2 separate regions of the Homo sapiens genome follow, and region 1 is linked to region 2. The links are contacts of gene promoters, found by promoter capture Hi-C in human tissues and cell types (Jung and others, 2019). All regions are on one chromosome and are shown on one strand. Each heading gives the region's core, a stretch centred on a gene start or on the middle of the fragment in contact. The rest is flanking DNA. Distances are from core to core; before and after follow the strand shown.

Region 1 (3,873 bases), core at 1,366-3,865, 350 kb after region 2:
GAGGAATTTCTAAGTGTTGGTTATCACATTTGCATAATGTGAAAGTCTTGAGTTTGAAGTGAGGCTACACCATCTTTTCTTTCTTTATTTTGTTTTGTTTTCTTTTGTTTTGTTTTTTTTGATACAGAGTCTTGCACCCAGGTTGGAGTGCAGTGGCGTGGTCTTGGCCCACTGCAACCTCTGCCTCCTGGGTTCAAGCAGTTCTTTGCCTCAGCCTCCTGAGTAGCTGGGATTATAGGTGCGTGCCACCACACTCGGCTAATTTTTGTATTTTCAGTAGAGACGGGGTTTCATCATCTTGGCCAGGCTGGTCTTGAACTCCTGACCTCGTGATCCACCTGCCTTGGCCTCTCAAAGTGCTGGGATTACAGATGTGAGTCACCATACCTGGCCTTTTTTTTTATTTTTGAGACAGTCTCACTGTATATCCCAGGCTGGAGTGCAGTGGTGCGATCTTGGCTCACTGCAATCTCCGCCTCCCAGATTCAAGCGATTCTGCCTCAGCCTCCTGAGTATCTGGGATTATAGGCGCATGCCACCACGTCCAACTAATTGATTTGTATTTTTAGTAGATACGGGGTTTCACCATATTGACCAGGATGGTCTCAATCTCTTGACCTCATGATCCGCCCACCTCGGCCTCCCATAGTGCTGGGATTACAGACGTGAACCACTGCGCCCGGCCTACACCATCTTTTGTTTGCAGTAGCATTGTTTTGAAAGGCAATGTTCTATGGGACTGAAGACCACAGGCTTGGAGTTAAATTGTCTGAATTCAAATTCTGTCTCTACTATTTGCTGGCTGTGTGATCTTGGGAAACTTGACCTCTTCAAGTCTTTATCATGATATTTAGCACACAGTAAGCATTCAGTAACATGAGTGATTACTACTGTCTTAGCAGTTCTGCTTCTCAGGGTTTATTTAAATAAACAGATGTAATTGGATTTCTCAGCTTTGTATGCCATTTGAAACTGGATTTCTCAAACCACAAAAGGTAAAGTTAAGGAATTGGATGATCTGTGATTTATAGTCTACTAACTGCTTTTTCTAGTGTTTGCCCACATATCTGTGTTGGTGAAATGTTGTGTATCATACCCCAAGTCAGTGTTACATTGAAGAGATAACTTCAGGTAGGTAAATATAATTGCTTAAGTGTTCTAAACAAGCGTATGATTTCTTCTTTCTCTTTTTTTGGCAGGAAATCCTTTTGTACTATTGCTCATTCATACTTGTTCATCAAAGCCTGGAGTCCTTAAGGACAGAATTTACCTCTAAACAGAAAGATGGAAACTAAAGTACATTTATTCTGCCAGGTATTTATTTAAAACAGTTTCTAAAGATTTCTTCTTTCTTCTTTTTAAAATTAGTTTACATTACCTCATATTCATAATCAGTAAGCAAATTCATAGAGTAATAGTTATAAGGAACCTGGCCAAGTAACTGAGATGATGTTTGAGTCATTTTAGTGAACATGTATTGAACTCCCATCCCTACAACCCATATAATACTGAGAGATCTTCTGTGGTGTATGATGAGAGTATTTTGGTGGGGTACGGACCTGGATAATTTTTGTGGAGATCAAAAGGGTTAAACTTACATGAGAGGTTGTAGATAATGTAATTAATGATGTGAGAGTATAACCAAAAAATAATGTAGAGGACATCAAATTTCTTTAGCCCTCTTATCTGTACTTCAGAGTTTTATGCCCTTCTGTCTTTTTAGATGCCTCCACCTTTTTTTGCTAGTATTGTGTCAAATAAGACAAGTTTTTTCAAATAAAAACAAATCTGGACTTAGTAAGCAGAGACTTTATTCAAAATAATTATTGCAAGAGAAAAAAGGGACTATTGAAATTGGAAGAGGAGGAGGACTATTGCAATGGAAAGAATGCTGTGACCGTAAGATCTGTAGGTGTCTCAAGGGTTGGGCAGAAGTTTTCTTTTATAGAGAGACGCTGGAAAGAACCAGGTATGGGGAAATTGGATGAAATAGTAGAATGATTAGATAAGTAGATTGGAGAGTATTTTATCATGAAGTCAGTCTATTATATTCTGATTATCAGTGGGGATAAAACAGCTAATAATTTATGACGCAAAGAAAGGGAATTTTGAGGGGGTGTGTCTGGCATTGTCATAAGTAAACAAGGGGGGCATTCCAGAGTCTTACCTAAGTCATATGGGGAGGAGTGGTTTGCAGTAAGCCATTTTCCAGAACACAAAAGGGTGGGGGGATTCCTTTAACCCTCACTGTTTTCTGGGAGTTTAGGGCTCAAGTGAAATTCAGCATTGTCAATTGAGAGTCCTAATCTTTTAAATTTATCCTTGTTAAAGATCTGACGCTACTGTGTAAAACATGTACCTATACTATAGTCTGAAAAATAATCTCAGAGACTCTTGAAAAGTGCTGAGATATGTACTTTATATCATATATATACACATATATACATTTAAAATTTACCTTTTTATACCTACTACTTTGTTGATTTTGCCCTTATAAACTGATTTTGAAGATGAATTCTTAAAAATTAATATTAAAGTATCATACCGGTTTGTTTTCCTTAGACTGTATAATTTATACTTCACAGATGGCTCACCTTTTACTACAATGTTTCTGAGATTGTTTTCTTCTTCTGTGTCAAAAGCTTCTACTCTTTGTTTTCATTCACTTGGCCTTTGGTAACAGGTTTTTCTGTCTTTTTAGATTTCCTACCCCTTTTCCCCCTCAGCTTTCTATTTTGGGTCATTTTTTTCAATCTCTTTAGGAATCCTTTCATCATTTGTAATACACATCTCATCAAGGCAGCAAATCAAATTGCCTTTTTGAAACAACTTAAAGGTATGCCTTTGTTATAAGACAAATGATGCAGATTCTAAAAGTCACTGAAATAGTTCTGTTAATTTCCATCCTGTGGAAACAGAGATTCTCTCTAAACTTCCTTGGTAATCTTTATAAATTGTCTGTGTAATCTTCATGGTCACCTTTGGGTTCAAAGACTCAGGACTAATGCACCTTTGATCGACTGGATGCCGCCAGTTGTCTTAAGCAAACAGCCAGATTTCAGGAGAGAATATTTCCAACTGCATTCTTCTATTTCTAAACGTTTATTGTCACTAAACTCTATTTCTTTTTGGGGGGGTGGGGAGTGGTGTCTATTTAGAAGCAATATAGCTTCTTTTTTTTTAAATATAGGCTTTGTTTTTTGTTATTTTATTTTTTGTAGAGAAAGATATTTATTTATTTAATATTTTTTATTTCAGTAGCTTCAGGGGTACAAGTGGTTTTTGGTTACATGGCTGAATTATACAGTGGTGAAGTCTGGGCTTTTAGTGTACCTGTTACCTGAATAGTATACATTGTACCCAACAGGTAGTTTTTCATCCTTCACTTCCCTGTCCCCTCTCCACTTCTGAATCTCTACCACTCCATATGCCTTTTTGGATCCATAGCTTAGCTCCCATTTATAAATGAGAATATGTGGTATTTGGTTTTTTTGTTCCTGAGTTACTTCACTTAGGATAATGGCCTCCAGTTTCATCCAAGTTGCTGCAAAAGACATTATTTTGTTCTTTTTTATGGGTGAGTAGTATTCCGTAGTATATATACCACATTTTCTTTAACCTCTCATCAGTTGATGGGTACTTAGGTTGGTTCCATACCTTTGGTATTGTGAATTGTGCTGAGATAAACATATATGTGTAGGTTTTTTTTTTGATACAACAACTTTTTTTTCCCTTTGGGTAGATACCCAGTAGTGGGTTTGCTGGATTGAACGATAGATCTACCTTTATTTCTTTGAGAAATCTCCATACTGTTTTCTGTGGAAATTATACTAATTTACATCATCCCATCTGCACCAACATTTATTGTTTTTT
Region 2 (3,997 bases), core at 141-2,640:
ATTTTGTTTCATCTCATATTAGACTCATATATCCAGTGATTTAATTAATCTCACCAGCTGTCTGGCTGTCCCACAGGACCTGCCTTCTCCGCTGTTGGCGTTAGAAAACGATTCCCTTTGCCTTTCCTCGCTCTGGCCTCCGCGTGGAGCCCCAGGATCCTTGACCTGACCTGTGGGCTCCCCAGCCAGGCGTCCACGCAGGGGCTAGATGTCTCCCACGGGGCTCAAAGTGTCCGCCAGGAGGGTACATGCCCTCCGCCCCGCAACACACACACACACCTCACAGGCGCGGGTGGGAAGCTGCCTGAAGCCCTACGGCTGCAGTTTTATTACAAGATTTCTTTCCAAACGCAAGATCAGGCCAACAAGCTCAGCGACTCTGACGCTTCACATCTTCACCCACTCGCACCGTGTTCCGAACCCACCCGCACCAACGTACACACAAAACTCCCACGCGAGCGACCGCAGTCCCAAATTGCATCTCCATACCCACTCCCACCCTGCCCCGAACGTCTTAAAAAACAAACAAACAAAAAAAACTGGTAAGAACCCTCACCCCACATTCTCCCACCCCGCAACGCTGCAGCGCACACAGGACAGAGCCGGGCGTCCAAGTCCCTTCCCGCGCCCCCGCCGACAGTCTCGCCGCGTCCCCGCCCGGGCGCCCCAGGCACGTAGCTGCCCGCCCGGAGGCGGCGGCAGAGCGCAGAGAGCGGGGCGAGGGTCCGGGTCTCCGGGGTCCTTCTTGCAGCAGCGCTGGCGAGGGCGGACCCAGATGGCGCTCAGTACAGCCCCAGGATGGCTGCGCCCACGTCCTTGGAGGGCCGGCGCTCCTGCACCAGAAAGTTGATCATGCTCTCGGACTTGATGAGCAGGTTGCAGCCCAGGAAGAAGACGCCGAAGACCACGGTAAGCGACAGCACGCAGAGCACGGCGATCTGCGCCACCCGCGACACCCACAGGCTGCGCTCGTCGGGCGCCAGCCCCGCGGGGACCCCGTCGCTGGCGGCCAGCGGTGCGCCCCCTGGACAGCAGCCCAGCCACGTGCCCAGCCCGTGGGTGCGGTTTCCCAGGGCGGCCCCGGCGCCGCCGCCCACGCCGTCCACCTCCTCCAAGCCGCTGTGGTTCAGGAAGGTCGCGTTCATCGCCGCGCGGCGCCGGGGGTCTCGGCGCGCAGTCCCGGGTGCACTGGGCTGCTCGCCGGGGTCCGCGCTCTCAGGGACGCTCCGGACCCCTCGGACCGGCTCCTGCGGTACGGGGAGGGGACGAAGGCGGGAGGCTGGCTGCCTGCGCGCTCTCGGGCCGCCTACCCCTGGGCACCGGGCGGGAAGCGACCGCCCGGAGGAGCGAGCAACAGGCGGCGCAGGAGCTGGAGCCGGAGAACCTAGTGTGCTTAGCGGTCGCCCGCTGGGTTCCTCGCGCGCCTGGCCGCCCCTCCCCTAGCAACGGCCCGGCCCCGCCCCGCCGGTCCCCGCGGCATCTCCGAGGGGCGGGAATCCCGCCGCGGGCGCAGCCTCCCCGGAGTCCCGGTGCTGGAGGGGGTCGGGAGATCCGGCAGCCTCTGTCCGCGGGCCGGCGAAACTCCACCCCCTCCTGGCACCCGCTGTCCGTTCTTGGCTAGAAAACCTCTCCAAGGTGCCCATTCCAGGATTTGATACCCTTAGCAGTGAAGTTATTCCGGAATCTGCCCTGACTCTCTTCGCTTATTATTTAAGCCCTCGTAAGCCTTGCTAGACATCAGATGAGTCGCCGGGACCCCTGGCGCTGCCCACTCCACTGGCCCCGGGTCTCCTGGGCGGTCCTGCCTCACAGCTTTCCCGGGGTGAAAGCTGTCGCGGCGAGGCGGGCTCTCTGCCTCCTTCCCTACACCCTCCTCTCAACTTGGTCCCATTTAACTTTTTTTTTAAATTAAAAAATAAATTACTGTTTTTTTCTTTCTTTTTTACACAAACATAGTCATTGTAGACTAGTTTAGAAAACATGAATTACCGAAATTACTCTAAAACTTTATAATCTGCCTCCTAGAGAGTGTCGATGTTATCACCTGGGTATAAACTCCTCCCAGACTTTTTCTATTTGTGCCTTTCTCTAGATAACAGATATGGGGATGCACCGTTCCTGCTTACTGCCTCCCAACCTTTCCTCACTTAACAGCGTAACTTTCCCTAGCGATGGTCCTCTACAGCTATGGCTCTGAATTGCCTTGGAGGGTTTATTAAAACCCAGATTGCTTCCACCTCCCGCCCCCAACCTCCCCACCCCAACCAACCCCAAGAGTTTCTGAATCAGATGTGGGATGGGGCCCCAGAATGTGCATTTCTAACAGTTCCCACGTGATGCACAAACTACTGAGCTACAACATCATTTTTAGTGAAGGAATGGCATTTTAAGGTATGGACTACTACAGTTTATTTAACCAAGCTTCCTGCTGGATGTCTGAGTTTTTCTTTCCTTCTTCTTCCTTCTCCCTTTCCTTCTCTCCTTCCTTCCTTCTTCTTTCTTTCTCTTCTTCTTTCTCTTCTTTCTTTCTCTTCTTTCTTCTTTCTTTCTTTCTGTCTTCTTTTTTCTTTCATCAGAAACAATATTACCATAAGGAGCCTTGTAACAAAGTATTTGTGCCAAAACTGATTTTTCTTTAGATTGTATTTTGAAAAATGGACCTGTAGAATCAAAAAGTAGGCCGGGCGCGGTGGCTCACGCCTGTAATCCCAGCACTTTGAGAGGCCGAGGCGGGTGGATCACGAGGTCAGGAGATCGAGACCATCCTGGCTAACACCGTGAAACCCTGTCTCTACTAAAAATACAAAAAAAAAAAAAAAAATTAGCCGGGCGTGGTGGCGGGCGCCTGTAGTCCCAGCTACTCAGGAGGCTGAGGCAGGAGAATGGCGTGAACCCGGGAGGTGAAGCTTGCAGTGAGCCGAGATCACGCCACTGCACTCCAGCCTGGGTGACAGAGCGAGACTCCGTCTCAAAAAAAATAAAATAAAATAAAATAAAAAAAGAAAAAAAGAATCAAAAAGTACTTCCTACTAAATTGCTTTCCAGAAATATACCAGTGTACAATCATGCCCTGTGGGGAAAGGGGGCTCCCCACCCCCAACATTGTTATCATTATTTTAAAAGTCTTTGCCTGAGTAGCGAAGGGGGGTGGGGGCAGGGGTGGTTTCTCACCCGTATGTTAATTTGCATGCTTTGATTGTTGCAGGAGAGTAAAGAAAGCACTTTGTTATTGCAATAATGCAGGCAAAAGATGCTGCCTGGAGACTTGAATTCCAGTGGTGACAGTGAAGTGGGAGACAAGGGGATGGAAAGGGCATGGCAAATTGGAGTGAAGGGATTCGGGATGCCCCAACACACAGGCATCACAGAGCCTCTGCTCCCTGTTATGGTTTGAATATGTCTCCCCAAGTTCATCTGTTGAAAACTTGACCCCCAATGTGGAGGTGTTGGGAGGTGGGGTGAGATGCTGCCATTGTTTGGGTCAGGGGCACCACCCTCATGAATAGATTAGTGCCATTGTCTCAGGAGTGGGTTCTTTATAAAAGGATGAGTTCCACCCCTCTTTCTCTTTCTCTCTCTTCTCTTTCTGGCATGTGATGTCTTCTGCCATGTTTTAATGCAGAAAGAAGGCACTCACCAGATAGATGCTGGCCACTCGATCTTGGACTTCCCAGCTCCTAGACTGTGAGAAATTAATTTCTATTTATAAATTGCCCTCTTTATAACAAGCATCCTGTTATAGCAGCATAAAGCAGACTAAGACACCCATACCCATCCTGATACTCATTATTAGAACATTAAGCATGTGTGTATATCCTGGTAAGTTATTAAAATTATTATTTTATTTATTTATTTTTATTTTGAGACAGGATCTCGCTCTGTTGCCCAGGCTGGAGTGCAGTGGTGCAATCACAACTCACTACAGCCCTGATCACCTGGCTCAAGTGATCCCCTTACCTCAACTTTCTGAGTAGCTGAGCCCACAGGCATGTGCCAC

What was found. Contacts are between HindIII fragments. The study calls those that stand out against the background at their distance.
Region 1: a fragment that was not itself captured here is called in contact with the fragment with the promoter of RPRML in region 2 in 1 of the 25 tissues and cell types used here (adrenal gland).

The regions. Positions count from the first base shown.
Region 1 is chr17:47,327,070-47,330,942 of GRCh38, forward strand. It overlaps EFCAB13 (EF-hand calcium binding domain 13), which reads left to right. Exons shown (of 25, transcript NM_152347.5): 4 at 1,200-1,314. The coding sequence starts at 1,285. Among named protein-coding and RNA genes, the nearest start is that of EFCAB13, 5.1 kb to the left of the region's middle. The HindIII fragment of the contact is 3,771 bases long and covers 731-3,873 here.
Region 2 is chr17:46,977,863-46,981,859 of GRCh38, forward strand. It overlaps RPRML (reprimo like), which reads right to left and starts at 1,391. Exons shown (of 1, transcript NM_203400.5): 1 at 294-1,391. The coding sequence starts at 1,145. The coding sequence ends at 783. It also overlaps a transcript of LRRC37A2 not described here. RefSeq lists enhancers at 1-176, 177-856 and a silencer at 1,334-1,513. The HindIII fragment of the contact is 12,504 bases long and covers 1-2,663 here.